5 separate regions of the Homo sapiens genome follow, and all the other regions are linked to region 5. The links are contacts of gene promoters, found by promoter capture Hi-C in blood cells and fetal thymus (Javierre and others, 2016). All regions are on one chromosome and are shown on one strand. The core of a region is centred on a gene start or on the middle of the fragment in contact, and the rest is flanking DNA. Distances in the headings are between cores, read along the strand shown. Region 1 overlaps DCTN4 (dynactin subunit 4). Region 2 overlaps LOC105378231 (a long non-coding RNA gene). Region 3 has its middle 24 kb from the start of SMIM3. Region 4 overlaps RBM22 (RNA binding motif protein 22). Region 5 holds the start of ANXA6 (annexin A6).

Evidence for each region. The method cuts DNA at HindIII sites, captures the fragments that hold promoters and counts their contacts. A CHiCAGO score of 5 or more calls a contact.
Region 1: a fragment that was not itself captured here is called in contact with the fragment with the promoter of ANXA6 in region 5 in 2 of 17 cell types (total CD4 T cells and neutrophils); the score reaches 5.2 in total CD4 T cells.
Region 2: a contact is called between a fragment that was not itself captured here and the fragment with the promoter of ANXA6 in region 5, in 2 of 17 cell types (erythroblasts and endothelial precursors). The highest score is 6.0, in erythroblasts.
Region 3: a contact is called between a fragment that was not itself captured here and the fragment with the promoter of ANXA6 in region 5, in 1 of 17 cell types (fetal thymus). The highest score is 5.3, in fetal thymus.
Region 4: a contact is called between a fragment that was not itself captured here and the fragment with the promoter of ANXA6 in region 5, in 4 of 17 cell types (fetal thymus, naive CD8 T cells, total CD8 T cells and 1 more). The highest score is 7.0, in fetal thymus.

What each region holds. Positions count from the first base shown.
Region 1 is chr5:150,729,490-150,733,109 of GRCh38, forward strand. DCTN4 (dynactin subunit 4) reads right to left here. Exons shown (of 13, transcript NM_016221.4): 6 at 1,927-2,000; 7 at 1,555-1,667; 8 at 1,142-1,251. Among named protein-coding and RNA genes, the nearest start is that of DCTN4, 28 kb to the right of the region's middle. The HindIII fragment of the contact is 7,333 bases long and covers 1-3,620 here.
Region 2 is chr5:151,649,421-151,653,015 of GRCh38, forward strand. All of the region lies in intron 1 of LOC105378231 (a long non-coding RNA gene), which reads left to right. It overlaps LOC124901116 (a long non-coding RNA gene), which reads right to left. Exons shown (of 2, transcript XR_007059007.1): 2 at 2,147-2,881. Among named protein-coding and RNA genes, the nearest start is that of CLMAT3, 26 kb to the right of the region's middle. The HindIII fragment of the contact is 2,441 bases long and covers 379-2,819 here.
Region 3 is chr5:150,801,089-150,804,275 of GRCh38, forward strand. No RefSeq gene overlaps it. Among named protein-coding and RNA genes, the nearest start is that of SMIM3, 24 kb to the left of the region's middle. The HindIII fragment of the contact is 4,840 bases long and covers 1-3,187 here.
Region 4 is chr5:150,695,529-150,698,996 of GRCh38, forward strand. It overlaps RBM22 (RNA binding motif protein 22), which reads right to left. Exons shown (of 11, transcript NM_018047.3): 4 at 2,971-3,103; 5 at 1,263-1,363; 6 at 1,005-1,177; 7 at 1-178. Among named protein-coding and RNA genes, the nearest start is that of RBM22, 3.8 kb to the right of the region's middle. The HindIII fragment of the contact is 3,324 bases long and covers 86-3,409 here.
Region 5 is chr5:151,156,529-151,159,746 of GRCh38, forward strand. It overlaps ANXA6 (annexin A6), which reads right to left and starts at 1,251. Exons shown (of 26, transcript NM_001155.5): 1 at 1,152-1,251. RefSeq lists an enhancer at 1,412-2,268 and a silencer at 2,064-2,123. The HindIII fragment of the contact is 7,741 bases long and covers 1-1,555 here.

The DNA.
Region 1 (3,620 bases), core at 739-3,238, 430 kb before region 5:
ACAAATATCAGAGACCAAGTCATTTCCTCCATAAATATTTCTGTATGTATCTCCAAAAGATAAAGACATTAAAAAACAAACAAACAAAGTACTATCATTATTCCTAAAAAAGAAAAAATACTTTTTTTTTTTTTTTAAGAGACAGGGTCTTTCTGTGTTGCCTAGGCTGGAGTGCAGTGGCTATTCACAGGCACCATCATCACACACTACAGTCTCAAACTCCTCAGGCTCAAGGGATTCTCCTGCCTCAGCTTCCAGAGTAGCTGGGACTACAAGTGCATGTCACTGTGCCCTGCCCAATAGTTTTTTAATAGCATCGAAAATGCTACCAGTGTTTAAATTTTCTCAAAGATTTCACAAATTTTTCTTTCCTTCTTTCCTCTTTCCCTTCTTCCCTCCTCCCCTGGGCCCTTTCTTTCTGTTTTGTTTGAATCCGAATCTACGTAAACTCTATACATTGTGTTTGGTAAACTTTTAAGTCTCTTCTAATCTAGAGAATGATTAAGTAACATTAGCCACTAGCGACATGTGGTTATTTAAATGAAATTAAAGACTGACTCAGTACCTCAGCTGCACTATCACATTTCATGTGCTCAAGAGCCACATGTGCCTAGTGGCTATCATGCGGGACTGTACAGACACAGAATACTTCCATCACCATAGAAAGTTCTGTTGGATAGTACTCCTCTAAAAGGTTTCTTTTCCATTTTGTTTTTACAATTTATTTATTGAAGAAACTCTGTCATTTGTTCTGTAGATTACCAGAGCCTGGATTTTGCTGATTTTTCTTGCTTTCTTTTAAATTGATTATTTTTTATTGGTCCTCCCTGAGCCTGAACACTAGCCTAAAAGTTCACACTCTTTCACTATTCTTTTAGGGGTTAACCCTATGTACTTAACCTTCAGATACTTCATTTTCTACATTTGTAAAACAGGTTTAACAGTAGTACCTACCTCACAGAGTTGTAAGAGCTGTTTATATTGAAAGCATTTAAAATAGTGCCTGGCAATTAGTATGTTCTCTACAAGTATTTTCTGTATTTAATACATTCCAAAGGTTTTGACATTAGTCAGACACCAGCCACATTTATTTTTGCTTTCCTCTTGTACAAATGGTCAGTCTACAGAATGGAATACTTACACGGCAGCGCAGGGACCGTTTGATCAGAAGATGTTTGTGGCGAGGATAGAGCTGTGAAGCACAGACTGGCTGGAAGTCAGGCTGTAACAGACGCTGCTGAAGGGTTGTTACTAGAAAGAAAGGCAGAAAACAGGCTTAGTTTACAGTGACTTTCAAAATCAGACTTTTATGTACCAGTAATTACACGAAGCATTACTGCCTTTACGAACAGTGTTGTTCATAAAAATGAAAATATAGAAAGTTGACATTTTAGATTTCAAACAATTACCTCTATTACAGCTGTTTTATTTTCTACATATTGTTTTTACTACTAACAGCTATTCCATTAAAAATCTCAAATCACTAGGTACATAAATAACAAAAACAGAATTAGATGTAGACTAGAAACAAAGTAGAAAAACACAGAAAATTACCCTCTGTTAAATTTACTGGTCTTGTATAATAGTCTTCAGGTAGAGGTTCCACTTCATCCACAGCCTGAGCTGGCTCAATCTTTATCTCTTTCTGATCCTCTCCTTCTTTAAGGCTGAAAAATTAAAAAAACAAAACAAAACAAAACAAAAGAGTAATTTCTCACGGATCCACCTGATTATCCTCAGTCTATGATATCAATAATTGAAGTATTCCTCTGTCATAGAATATCTGTATAGCGTAGGTCTTTTCTAAGTATGAGAATCTTCTTTTCCATTGACAACTGTGTGTGTGTGTGTGTTTTAATCTCATTTATTTGATATTCATTTTGATACCTGCTGTTCTCCTCAAAGTCATTTCATGTCTAAACTTACGAAAGTCCGGCAAGGGTACTGATGGATGCACCAGCTCGTGGTCGCTGAAGCCTGGTTCCAAGACCATATTTGTCCTAAACAAAGTTCAGAAATTCCTATTAGAAAGTCCACTTTTACACACCCTATTTATCAAAAGAAAGAATTTTGGGTAGGATAGCATGAGAAGCTCAGGGAAATAAGCAAAAAAAAAGCTAATCTAAAGGCTTCTTTTAAAGAAAGCAATTTGTAGCCCCACATCATTATTCTATTCTTAAAATAATAACAGCACTAAACATGGAGATTGAAACTATATTAATACAGTAAAAATGAACCAAATGTGAGCTTCTGCTAGTAATCTAAAAGTATCTAAGCTACGGCTCAGGCAAGAACTATGTGGAGTGTCTAAGATACACAACAGACGTCTTCCTGGAACACCAGTGGTCATCTGCTAACTTCTTCAGGGTCAGCAAGAATCATAAAGGAGAACTTACCACTACATGAATAGTATGTTGCTGTAGAGCCCCAAAATAGCAGCAGGTTGCAACAGAGACAAAAAATGCAGCATAAGATAGAAGCAAACGCATATAGCAGGCAGGTTATATGGGAAAATTGGAAGAATAATTCATTTAATTCAAATTCTACCTCTAAATATAACACACATTGGTGCATATGCTGACTATACCACTGGACTATTCAGAAAAATTCACTTCTTTTTGCAAATGTAGGTGCTTTGCAAGTGTTAATGTTTTTAAATTCTAATCTAGATTTTTTTTGAGACAGAGTCTCACTCCGTCACCCAGGCTGGAGTGCAGTGGCGCTATCTTGGCTCACTGCAACCTCCGCCTCCTGGGTTCAAGCGATTCTCATGCCTCAGCCTCCCAAGTAGCTGAGATTATAGGCGTGCGCCACCATGCCCAGCTAATTTTTTGTATTTTTAGTAGAGACAGGGTTTCGCCATGTTGGCCAGACTGGTCTTGAAATCCTGACCTCAAGTGATCCCCCCGCCTCAGCCTCCCAAAGTGCTGGGATTACAGGCGTGAGCCACTGCACCCAGCTTAATCTAGGTATTTTTATATGGACTTTACCAACCCTTAGGGTTTCAATGACTTAACTAATTTTCATGTGGATGCAGTATGACAAGTTGCTTAACTAGGTCCCATTTCCTCAAGCGTAAAATGGGGATATGATACTCCACAGGATTTTTGTGAGGATTAAGTAAAGTAATACATGTAAAGTGTTTATTTAGCACAGAGCTTGACACATCATTGCCATTCAATAAATGTTATTTATTGAATGTCAATTTGCTGGGCCCCAAGCAAGCACACAGAAAACAAACTGTACTATGAGAGCAAATAAAACTCGGGGTAAAATAACAAAAATTCCAAATCCTAATTTCTTTCTTCTTACTAGCAGTACGTAAACTGGTAGAGAATGACTCTCATAAATAATTCTTATCAAAAATTCTACTTGCATATATTACTATTTAACCACACAAGTGCACTATGTAAAAAGTCAGTGTTTTTCATCTTGGAGAAACAGGGGAGGATGTTAAAAAAATTATAACTAAAGCTGAGAAACCACTACTGCCAGGATGTCAAAGGTGGGCTACAGGGGTAATATGACTGAAATCTACCATTTGCCCACCTCCTTCTTCTCAGACTTTCTGTAATACACAAAAGCTGTACGTGGAACTCTGCAGTGCCTACAAAATTAAC
Region 2 (3,595 bases), core at 349-2,848, 490 kb after region 5:
AGGGGCAGAAAAAGGCATGTTTTTGGCAAAAGACTTCATAAGATGTTATCTCAACATCTTATGAAGTTGGAGCCCTAGGAGGGAAGGCAGTTGCTAAACCAGGTGGGAAAACAGATAGGGTGGGAGGGAAGGACTTAGGTAGGTTCCCACACTGGTTTGGATCCAGGGCCGCCTCTGGAACTAGGTTTCCTGGCCTGAGGAGGGTGGCCTCATGCCTTTTCCACTCTCCTAGGACTAGACAGGGAGAAAGAAGAACGTGGAAGGGAAGGAAGGGGAGAAGAGAAGAAATGAACTGCTTAAGTTCATGGCCCCATTCTACTCCTCAAGCTGGACAACTTAGTGGAAAGAGTTGCAGATGTAAAGTTACAGATGCAAGGAAGCTTCAGCATCATCCAATCTAACCCTCTTATTTCTTTTTATTTATTTATTTATTTATTTGAGACAGGGCCTCCCTCTGTTGCCCAAGCTGGACTGCAGTGGCACAATCTTGGCTCACTGCAGCCTCCTCCTGTGAGGTGCAAGCAATCCTCCCAGCTCAGCCTCCCACGTAGCTGGGACTTCAGGTGCATGCCACCATGCTCAGTTAATTTTTTTTAAATTTTTTGTACAGACAGTATCTCAGTATATTGCCCAGGTTGGTCTCAAACTCCTGGGCTCAAGCAATCCTCCCACCTCGGCCTCCCAAAGTTCTGGAATAACAGACATGAGCCACTGTGCCCAGCGAAGCCTCTTATTTCATGGATGAAAAGACCAAGGCCCCCAAGATGAGTACTTCCCAATGCTGACCAGAAGATGAGATGGCCTTCTCCTGTGCCAGAGGAAGTTAAAAGTGATGCATTTTGAAGGAAATTTTGGCAACATTTGTCAATGTTTTAGACACACATACATTCTTTGGCCCAGCAATTCCACTTCTGGAACTTCATCCCACAGAAACCCTTGTACATGTGTACAGAGATGTATGTACCAAGTTGTCCTCTGTAGTGTGCTTTGTCAGTGCAAGACACCTCAAGAGACAGTAAAGGGTGTGCTTAGCAGTAAGTGCAGCATTAAACTGCTACATTGGTATTACAAAATACCATGCAGCCACCAGAAGGAAGGAGGCAAATATATCTCATTACTATGGAAAAATTATGAGTGATATTGATTGATTGATTGATTGAGATGGAGTCTCGCTCTATCGCCCAGGCTGGAGTGCAGTGGCATGATCTTGGCTCACTGCAACCTCCGCCTCCCAGGTTCAAGCGATTCTCCTGCCTCAGCCTCCCAAGTGGTTGGGATTACAGGTGGCTGCCACCATGCCCAGCTAATTTTTGTATTTTTTTTTTTTTGAGATGGAGTTTTGCTCTTGTTGCCCAGGCTGGAGTGCAATGGCACAGTCTCAGCTCACTGCAACCTCCCCCTCCCTGGTTCAAGCGATTCTTCTGCCTCAGCCTCCTGAGTAGCTGGGATTATAGGCACCTGCCATCACGCTCAGCTAATTTTTTGTATTTTTAGTAGAGACAGGGTTTCACCATGTTGGCCAGGCTGGTCTCCAACTCCTGAACTCAGGTGATCCACCCCCACTTGGCCTCCCAAAGTGCCAGGATTACAGGTGTGAGCTACCATGCCCAGACTAATTTTTGTATTTTTAGTGGAGATAGGGGTTTCACCATATTGGCCAGGCCAGTCTTCAACTCCTGACCTCAAGTGATCCGCCCACCTTGGCCTCCCAACATGCTGGGATTACATGCGTGAGCTACCGTGCCCAGCCTATGAGTGATATTTAAAATTAAAAACAAAGCATGGCTGGGAAAGGTAGCTCACTCCTGTAATCACAGCATTTTGTGGGGCCAAGGCGGGTGGATTCCTTGCCCCTAGGAGTTCAAGACCAGAGTGGGCAACATAGTGAGATCCCATCTCTACAAAAAAAAAATTAGTTGGGTGTGGTGGCACACAACCTGTAGTCTCAGCTACTCAGGAGGCTGAGCCAGGAGGATCACTTGAGCCCAGGAGGTCGAGGATTCAGTGAGCCCGTGTTTGCACTACTGCACTCCAGCCTGGGTGACAGAGTGAAACCATGTCTCAAAAAAAAAAAAAACAAACAAATAAATAAAAGCACATCAAATATATTGTGTTATCCCACTGATCCAACAAAAAAATGTGTATATGCTTATGTATTATTTTATTTTTATAGTTTAATATGTATATTTCCAGAAAGATATGCAAGAAATATTCATAGTTAATTTACTTCATTTTACACCCTTATGCACAGTTTGAAGTTTTTGTTTGGTAGATTTTTATCACATGTGTATTACTTTCATTGCAAAAAGAAAATTGAGATGGAATTTGCTCAGCTGGGATCATGTAGTCATCCAGTTACTTTTGGGACTGGAACCAGACCAGGTCTCCTGACTTGTCTCTTTTGACTTTTGCGCACTGCCTTCTCTTCTAAGCTCAACAACCAGACTTAGGGCAGAGAGGGCTCTGCCTCCTTTCCATCTGTCCAATGGCTGAGAACTGGGGGTATGAAACTGTCAGTGCTCAGGGATGATGACATTCTAGGTTTTTGGGCTTCTGCCTATTGGATTCCTTTTCTGGCTGCACCACTAAAAGTAGATAATAAGCAAATGACAAATTCCTTCTCTTTTCTGAGACTCAGTTTCCCCACCTGCATAGTGGTAGCGTGGGTGTGGGTGGTGAAGTGAAGCTCACTCCTTCAATGTCCTGAGAACCTTTTAGCTGATGCTGCTGCTCCTCCAGGCTTGGGAGCATGGGGCTCAGGAGTTTTCATTCCTTGAGCCAGGCTTCCCCCTGCTGGTCTCTGCCAGTAGCGCTCGGTAAGCTTCCAGTAAAGTGTTCTAACTGGCCGTTGGTGGGGCAGGAGCTGGAGAAGCTCGACATCCTGCAGTGGGTGAGACAGTTGTGCACAGTGAAGAATTGTCTCACCTCCTGCATGGCTTTCCAATAAACAGATGATCTGAGCTTGGAACGAACTCCCCTTTACAAACATCAACAAAGTGGTTTGGGTTTGTGCTGTTTTGTGTTGTTTTGCTGTGTTTAGAGATGGTCTCTGTTGCCCAGGCTGGAGTGCAGTGGCATGATAATACCTCACAGCAGCCTCCAACTCCCAGGCCCAAGAGATCCACCCACCTCAGCCTCCCATGCACCTGGGACTACAGGCTGGTGCCACCACACCTGGCTTGTTTTTGTTGTTGTTTTGCATTTAAGATATATTGAATTGCAAAGACCCTGTAAATCAAGGGATGCTTGAACTTAGCTTGGTCCAGAGCAAGAGTTGTTCACCATCTCACAAAATCATGTCACCAGTGCCACTTGTGTGGGAATCACCTTTTCAACCCACTTGTGTCCATCTGCATTTGTAGCCATAACTCTTTGCGAGTATGTAACCAAGGAGCTCTGAGACTTCTGTTTAACAGATGGAGAACTAAATATTACTAAATTAGCACAAAGATATATGAAATACAGACACTTTATTTCATTTATGAAGGCTGTTTAAAATATATATTATTGCCATGTTTTATGTTTTTAAATTTTTGGTAGCACAATAAGAAAGCTATATTGTGAAAAATTATGTTCTTATTTATGTATCTTTTGG
Region 3 (3,187 bases), core at 683-3,182, 350 kb before region 5:
GAGACCCAGGCTCTATGTGGCCTACACTCTTCTGAACTCTTCTGAGTCTTGATTCCTGGTCTGTGAAGTGTGCAGTGTATCCGAATTAAATGAGAAAATCATTCCGTGCTTTTAGGGTGAGTTTGAATAACTTTTAGGCAGTCCACCAGATGGCGATATAACTTTTTTTTCAAATGGAGTGGTTAGCCTGCCGAAGTTGTGAGAGTCAGTCCTACAACATTCCTAGCAGATCAAGATTTTATGTTCCCAGTTCTGGCTTCAGAGACTGTAGCGATAACACAGGGCTCATGCAGTCCAACATCCCGTATAATACAGGTTGCCAGTTGTTGCCTTTTCAGTATTTCTCCTGTGTGATCCTGGACTGCTTGTGTCAGATTCACACAGGAGCATTTGCTTACAAATGCAGCTTCCAGGGCCCTGCTTCAGACGTACTGACCGAGAATCTCTGGAACTGGTTCTTCAGTATCTGCTTTGCAAAAACAATCCGTAAGTGCTCAACAAACAGGTTAAAGTCTGAGAGCCACGTGCCAGTGAAAAGGAGGTTCACGTCTTGCTGAAGCCACCCCTTATTAGCTGTTTTGTTAGAATTCCTCCCTCGGTGAGAGTGGGATTAAGGATTCAGGGATGCTAGTTCTGCCCTCTTGAGGCCACACTGAAGAGATCAACTTCCTTTTTCTTGGGAAATGTCTGAACATTTTGAAGGTCGCTAATCATGACTTACCTCACCTCCGCCCCTATCTTCTCTGGGGGTGGGGAAGAAGTCATACTTTGCATTACAGGTTGGCTGTCATCCTCCTTCCCTTTCCAGGAACACTATAACCAGAGACTAAGAGCGAGGACCTTCACTATTTCTTAGCTTTGTGATCGTGAGCAAATAACATAAACTCTTTGAGCCTCAATTTCCTCTTCTGTAAAATACGAGTGAAAATAATTATACCTACTTCAAAGGATTGTTATGATTATTACATGGGGTGATGAATGCAAAGTGAAAAGGTAAAATATAGCAAAATGTGATCTATTATTAACAATAATGAGCTTCAGTTTCTACATCTGTAAAATGGTGATGATAACTACTAGAGCATGGGGAGAATTAAATGAGGTAATATAAGTAAGGTAGTTGGTTAATGTCTGACTTAGAAGAGGCTCTCAATAGTAGTAATTATAAGATGGCCAATAATGTAAAAACACCAATGGTCTATGCCCCTAATGATGTGGGATTTTAAAAATCACTGAAGTAATGAGATTAGCAATTTCCTTACTGTTATCCTGTAGGATCAGCCTTAGAACAAGTATAAAACTTGTATCTCTTCTATACTAAGTTCCTTTTAGAAAATGTTTCTTAATGAATCCACAATTATTTAATAAAACACAAAGTATTCAATTTTTAAGTATTAATTCCTCACAGAAATTGCTTTCTAAAGTTTTAAGGGTGCAAAAAACATTAAAAATCTTTCAGTAAGCTAAAACTTTAATTAGGCCCTTATATAATTCTTGCTAAAGAGAGAGAATGGAACTGAGACTGTGAAATGAAATGACAATGATAATATTTCCTTTGAAATTTTTAAGGCCAAGTTGCATTAATGCAACTTTGAAATTGTTCCAATCACACAAGGTATTTAATTAAAGCAAATGAAAGGCTCTTCAATTCCCATAAAGATTTACATGGTAGGAAAAATGTTTCTGTTTTAGCAGGTCTATAACATCATTTTTAAAAATTACAAAAATTATTGTATCTACTTTTAAAGCTGGACAGCAATAGTTATAGAGAGAATCATTTAATTTTAGAGTCAAGCAGACCAAATTCCCATCTGGCTCCACCAGCGTGTTCCCTTTAGAAAGTAACATTTAAGAGTTTCATTGCCCTTGTTTGTAAAAAAGGGGATCATATTTGCCTCCACAGTGCCGCTGAGGGGTTTAAACAAGGTGCTGAATCTAGAACACTTACAGAGAGCCTGTAATAAGTACTCAGTGCTTAAATGTTACCTAAAAACAAAGGAAGATCATTAGCACTACCGTAAAAAATTATATATGGGTGGGGCACATTGGCTTGATTGGTTTCGCTATATGGGTTTCAACCAAACGTCTTGGGGAAAAATTCGGAAGGCAATAAAAGGAAAGTGGAAAGGACAAAGAGGATTGGAGTTGGGGAGGGTAAGAGACAGTTATAAGTCTGAGGAAAAATTAGGAAATAGCATAGAATTCTAATTCAAATAACTTAATTACCCTTGTATTTATATTTTTTCTTAAAGTTGTTTTACTTTAGTGAGCAGTCTTTCTTCTCAGATTGTGTCTTAGCATATTAATGAAAAAAACAGATGATAATATTACTGTACAATAAGAGTTTAGCAGTGATTGAAATTCAGTGTCAATGAAGACACAGGGCAATGGAGAGAAAAATCATAGATATGTCATGAAAACAGTTTTAGTAATTTTTCATTTCAACAACAAATTTCATAATAATGATATAAGTACATTCTTTATTTTATATATATATATGTTCTTTTTATAGAGATGGGGTCTCACTGTGTTGACCAGGCTGGTCTTGAACTCCTGGTCTCAAGCAATCCTCCCATCTTGGCCTCCCAAAGTGCTGGGATTACAGATGCGAACCACCATGCCTGGCCTCTGAATTTTAAAATAGTTATGAGTGCCTTTAGAATTTCTACTATTGGAGCCCTTTATGCTTCTATTTACCTTCAATCAAGATTTGCACCTCAGAAAACATAGTTACTTGTTGTTGTTGTTGTTGTTGTTAGGAAAAGTTCAGTATGAATGCTGTTGTCTCATTCTACATAGCAATTGTTTGGGTCATGTATAATAAAGAATTGATACCTACTCTAAAAATGAAGATATTTTGTGTTCTAGGAATTGAGTGGCACTTGGTCAAAGAATGATTTATGGAATCTCTGGGCATAAGGGGAATTGATTGCTCTTTAGTTTTTCTTTTCCACACTTAGTACTAAATTATTTTGAATTTATGGGAAGTTAAGCTAAGTGAACCACATCTTTCCATTTTGTTGCAAGGAGCTTATCACTTTCTAAACGGAGAACTATACTGTCTCGGAGTAATGGATTGAATAGTGGCCCCCCCAAAATTATGTCCACTTCCTAAATCGCAGAACCTGTGAATGTTACTTTGAAAAAAAAAGGGGGTCTTTGTAGATGTCATTAAGTTAAGGATCTCCAG
Region 4 (3,468 bases), core at 498-2,997, 460 kb before region 5:
ATCACCTAGACCACCAACATATAGTGTGGTGATAGTTTTATCCTCTGGTGGGTCCAGCCGAGGCATTGTTGAAGCCCGCTTTAGAAGCTTGTCAGCTACAGGATCATTGATTCCGTAATAACGGTCTTTAATATTCTGATCAGCAAGGGGGTCATCTGGATCTGTAGGCTTCTCATGTCTATGATTCAAGAAAAAAACAAGGCATAAAGGTGAAACGAAGGTGAAAAAATGATTATCTTCCAAGAGTAGCTACATATTAAAGTCCTAGATACATATTCTGAAGTGCCTTTTGAACTAGAAACTATGGTTTCTACCAAAATATAATTACCAAAATAGACCTAATACCAAGAGATTTACTGTATCACGGAAGGAATTACTAGCCTCCTAAAAGCCATTAGGCCATCTAGGATGCCAAACTTTCCTTATAAATAAATACTCTTGACATGATCCACCCCCTCCCGCCCCCCAGAAAGGGACACATGATTACCCCTCTCTAGGTCAATGATTCTTAACACATTTGGGGTGCTGTATTCCACTGAGAATCTGATTAAAGCTATGAACCTCGCCCCAGAGAAAGCACATACATTATTTTTTAGGGGGTGGGGTTAACCAATCCCAAATTAAGAACTCCTAATCCAGATGCTTGGCAGTCTTAACCAAAACATACACACCCTTTAGAAGTCTGACCTTACTTTGACTTCAACTATACATTGAGAGTCAACTCATTTAAACCATGGCAGTGAAGATTTACTTCTCAGGCAGAAATGTTTAGGGTCAGCATCTATATTGTATGGCATAGCAATTTAGTTTCCAAGGCTCAATTGTAAGTAAAAACTACAATTTATTCATGCTCTTCTAAATTTCATAGTTCTAAGACATGAGGTATACCACATTAGTTGTATGACCTTTAGATTTTAAAGCAGAAACAGTTTAAGTTAGGACCTCCCACTTCTTAGATGAGAAATCATCTGAAAGCAAATACTGAAAATGAGGCTCGCTCTTGCCTGTATGGACATTCCTCTCCTCTCTTACACTCTCCTTTCACCCAGAAGGAGCAAATGTGGGGTCGATTCCTTTTGTAGTAGGGTGTGGTCCGGGCCAGTTTGAGCAGCATGTCACTGGTAGATGTGGCTTTCCCCAGCATGCCAACTGGCCGTGTTCCATCAGAGTTAGAAATCTAAGTGGGGATGACAAATTCAAAAGATAAATTATACAGACTGTGTCAATTCATTAGGATTTTTATCCAAAAAGTGGCAGCATACCTCTCTCTCCATATTCTGTGTATAGTACTCTTTGTTGACATCTGACTTTGGCATGTCATCTTTAAAAGACAATCCTGCGTCACGAACCTGGATGGGCAGGCCTGGTACAAAAAAAGAGGAAAAAGACCTCAGATGTATTTTAAAACATATCCATACTAACCATGCACACAGAATACATCATCTTTCCCTTCTCCTCTTTCCTATTTAGTACCAGAGACTTTACTATGTTTTTATTCAAACTCTTTAGCACCATCAGGTTACTTCTGCTACACAGCATGCTAAGAAATTGTCCAAATTCCTGAACTGTCAGGAAATTTGATGAAATTAATGCTTTAGAAAAAATCTTTTAGGCTGGGTGTGGTGGCTCATGCCTGTAATCCTAGCACTTTGCAAGGCTGGAGCTGACAGATAGCTTGAGTCCAGGAGTTCGAGACCAGCCTGGTCAACGTGGTGAAACCCCATTTCTACAAAAAATACAAAAATTAGCTGGGTGTGGTGGTATGCACCTGTAGTCCTAGCTACCCAGGAGGCTGAGGTGGATCACCTGAGCTTGGAAAGGTTAAGGCTGCAGTGAGCCATGACCATGCCACTGCACTCCAGCCTGGGCAACAGAGTGACACCCTGTCTCAAAAACAAAAAACAAAAAAATTATAAAAGAAAATTTTTAGATGAACAAACTGTGCCCATGGTCATATTCAACCTGTAAATTAGCTCCTAGTTTTTATTACAACATGATTTATTTAAAGTAAATGTAAAAGTGGTTTCTTTCTAGGTTAGTCTTACAGATCCTCTGGATAGTCACAGTCATCTAAGGGTCACTGTACTCCAGGACCAGACGCCTCCTTAACAAACATATAAATAATATTACATAAAATGTGGCCAGGACTCTGACTAGAAGAGTAACTCTAATGAACTTAACATACATAAACTCATATATTTTTCCCTTTCCTTTAATAGTAAAAACTCTTGTTGAAAAATTATCTTTCTGAAAAACAGTCACCTATGGTTAAAAAAAAAATTACTCCCAAAAGCAGTTACTCTGAAACAGTAGCAATATATCAGTTCTAACAACACAATTGAAATAAAAGTCTAAAGCACAATTAGGCTGGCTATAGTGGCTCTGGGAGGCCAAGGTGGGAGGACTGCTTGAGGCCAGAAGCTCAAAACCAGCCTGGGCAAAATAGTGACACACACACACACGTGCACTGGGTGTGGTGGTATACCAGGAGGCAGAGGCAAGAGGATCCCTTGAGCCCAGGAGTTCGAAGTTGCAGTGAGCTGTGATCACACCACTGTACTCTAGCCTGGGTGTCAGAGTGAGACCCTAACTCAAAAAATAAAATAAAATAAAGCACAATTACCCTGTGAGCTTCTGATTGGGATGGTGGAAAAAAGCTCTGGATCAAGAAAGAAGCCTAAGGCAAATAAATTATCTATCATAGGATCAACGCCTTTTACCTCACTTGGGCTACAGAGATGAAGGTTTAGGCCACTTTTGATTAATTCCCAACTTTTCCTTAAGTTCCTACTATTGTTCAGGACTCTAGAGTGGCCTAATTATGGTTCTTTTCCTGGGAAAAGCAGACCACGGCAGACATTCCAAAGTGAAATCAGAACCAGAGCTAGGGTGCGAAGTGGGAGACAAAAGACTGACTTGTAGTTTTAGGCACCTGCACACTTTCAGATTTATTGGACAGGTCAAACATACCATACTCTAGGTCTAAGAGGCAGGTCTGACAGACATTCTTCAATTTACTGCAGGTTTGGCACACTTCAGTCTTCTTGAAACGCATGCGGACTCCAGGGCACCAGCGAAACACTGTGAATGGCCTGGCACAGATCTGGAACACAAAGCAAGAGCCATAGAATGTCAATGGTCCTGATCTGGGCAATCTGGAGATCTGATAACAACGGGGCATTCAAAAAAGGATCCCTGAATGTAGGATTTAGAAGAGACCTTAGCAATCATCTAGTTGATTTGATGTTTCAATACAATTTTCAGCATCCTTCTCCAGCAAAAATTCAGAGTACAGAAATGAAATAGCCAAAGGGTCAAAGTTCTTCCCATCCTAGAGCTAAGCACCAATAATAATCTGAACCTTAATCTTTTTTAGGGGGAGTGGGGAGTGTCATGTAATTTTTTGAGAAGCTTCTGACAAGAATGACCTTCCTCCTCAGCTAAAATGCTCGAGTGGACAGTCATACA
Region 5 (3,218 bases), core at 1-2,500:
CATGTTTTGGGCAAGGGGGAAGGAATAATGGAGGGAAAAGGGCGGACTCTTGGGGGGAAACCAGAGTCCTTTCACAAACCCGGGAGCCATATGTCCAAATTTGGAATTGTCAGAGAAGACCCACTAGAATCTAGGGAAAGGAAGGAGGAGGCAGGAAGCCGTGGCCAGATTAGTTGTCCCAAAGGACCTCCTGCCCTTTCCCCTTGTAGGGCCTACAAGGGTTGTGCCAGGCTTCCCAAATCTATAATCAAGACTCCCAAACCTGCAATCATTCCATACAGCTGACAAATAAATCAGTTTTCAAAGCCATTGTTTCCTTTGAAAGAGACTGGGTTTCTCAACTATGGACTTGGAGAAGGAAATCCAGGCTCAGAGAGGGAAAGCCACCGCCCAAAGTCACACTGCAACAGGGGCTGGGATTCCGATTCAGGGTATTTTGCTCCCATGCTGGTATATGGGGAATTATTTGAAGCCCCCAAACTTTGGGAAGGCCTAGACCGCTTAGGGGATGCAGAAAGAAGGGTAGTGCCCCTGCCTCACCATAGGAGGCCTCGGAGCCCCGTTGGGAGACTGCATTCATAGACAAGCAGTGGCCCAAAGGGGATGGGGTCCAATGAGGCCCTGAGGTATGTACGACCGGACGTTCAGCTCTCTGCACGCAGGCAGCCCTCCCCCGACACCACACACAAGCCATTTTATAAGCAGCTGGAGGGTCCAACGCTCTTGCTCTCAGTCTTGGGCCTCAGCCACACCCTTCTCTGCGGGTCCTTTGACTGGCGTCCAGCTGACCCCAACCCCGGACCTTCAAAGTCTCTTGAGCCCCCCCAAATTAAGGCCGGCAGGACCAGCCCCTGGCTCAGCTCCGGCGCCCAGGACCCTCAACCAGACCCTCTGCAGCAACGGGACTCCCTCCCCTCCCCCTAGCCAGGGCGCCCTCCGCCCGCGCCTCTCCGCCCCGACCCCAGATTTGCTCCGCTGCGCTCCCCAGACACACCCAGTCTGCGACACTCTCGGGTTACCGCGCCCTCCCGTCCCTGCTCCTGGCGGGGGGTACCCATCAGCCGATGACTGGGCGCTTATTTCTTGTGTCCCTGCAGCCCCCGGGAAGGGGTTCCCAGAGCGACTCCCCTCTCCAGCCTCAGCCCACTCACCGCGCAGCGGAGGCCTCGGGTCGCAGACGGACGCACGGGCGCAGGGACTCGAGGACGCAGCGCTCGCTGGATCGGAGCCCGTTAGCCCAGCAGCAACCGCAGCGCGGGGCGGACCGGGAGGACAGCCGTGGGCTCCGAGCCGGACACGTGGCGCGCAGAGGCCAATCCGGCGCGCCCGCCTCCCTCCTCCACCCCACCCCTCTAGCTCCTTAGCTCTTGGAATCTTAGAATGTCACTAGCCCGAGGGGCTTGCCGGGAGAACCTCCTCAGTTTCCAGCCCCCGGATCTGAGACTGAGAAGGATTAGGGGCTTTGGCCAAGGTCACGCGGCCCTTCAGGGCTAGAAGTCAGGGCTCCTGACTCCGGGTTCTGGACACTTTCCCGCAAATTCTTATAAGTCGCCAAAGCTTTGTTGAGAAACAGAAAATTGAGGTTTGCCAGGGGCACTTTATCTGCCTGATCAGATTCCATGCCTCAACAGCCTCATTAGGTCGGTGACATTATTTACCCACTTTCAGGAGGAGAGCCCAGTCCAGTTCCTGGACCAAGGTCACACAAATAGTGGGTTGCGGAGGCAAGCTTCTTCGTGCTCTGGGAAGCAGGGAAGGCAGGCAGGGAGACCAGCAGTTGTAATCCAGCGCTAGAACAGGAAAAATTGATAAACTGAGAATACAGAGGAAACTGAGAATTATTGTCCCCAGGGGATTGGTAAGGAGAAGATGAGGAAGTTAGAAGAATTGGACAGATACCTGCGGAAAGTGTTCCAGGCAGAGGAAACTGCTGGAGCAAATGCTCCTAGCAGGAGGCCACCTGGCGCCTCCGAGGATCAGCAGGGGGGCCAGTGTGGCTGGAATGGAGTGAGTGGGAGGGAGAGGAGAGATAAGAGGGACCCAATCAGGTGGGACCTCCGGGGCCCTTGAAGGCACGCTGTCTTTTACTCTGAGTCAACTGGGGATCCATTGCAGGATATTGAGCAAAGAAAGGGTATTATTTTTGGGTAGATGAAATCCACACAACATAAAATTAACCATTTTAAAGTCAACAATTCAGTGGCATTTTGTACAGACACAATGTTGTGTATCCACCACCTCTATCTAGTTCCAAAATATTCTCTTCACGGAAAAATAAAACAGTATACCCACTGAGCAGTCACTCCTAACTTTCCCTTACCCCTCGTCTCTGGCAACCACCAATTTGCTTTCTGCTTCTGCGGATGTGCCTATTCTGGATATTTCATATACATGGAATCACATGAGATGCAACCCTTCTTGTCTGACTTCTTTCATGTGGCATTTTGTTTGTTTGTTTTTGTTGTTGTTTTTTCACTCTTGTCGCCCAGGCTGGAGTGCAGTGGCGTGATCTCTGCTCACCACAACTTCTGCCTCCTGGGTTCAAGCAATTCTCCTGCCTCAGCCTCCCGAGTAGTTGGGATTACAGGCATGCGCCACCACACCCAGCTAATTCTGTATTTTTAGTAGAGACGGGGTTTTTCCATGTTGGTCAGGTTGGTCTTGAACTCCCGACCTCAGGTGATCCACCTGCCTCGGCCTCCCAAAGTGCTGGGATTACAGGCGTGAGCCACCGTGCCTGGCCTCATGTGGCATGTTTTTGAAGTTCATCCACACTGTAGCATGTATCAGCACTCCATTCCTTTTTTTTTTTAGTTTCAGTTGGAGTTTTGCTCTTGTTGCCAAGGCTGGAGTGCAATGGCGTGATCTCGGCTCACTGCAACCTCCACCTCTCAGATTCAAGGAATTCTCCTGCCTCAGCCTTCCGAGCAGCTGGGATTACAGGCATGCACCACCACGTGTGGCTAATTTATTTTTGTATTTAGTAGAGATGGGGTTTTACCATGTTAGTTAGGCTGGTCTCGAACTCCTGACCTCAGGTGATCCACCCGCCTTTGCCTCCCAAAGTGCTGGGATTACAGGCATGCGCCACCGTGTCCGGTCCAGCACTCCATTCCTTTTAATGGCTGAATAATTTTCCGTTGTATAAGTACACTATAATTTGTTTATCCATCCATCTGTTGATGGATAGTGCATTGTTTCCCCCTTTTGCTGATTGT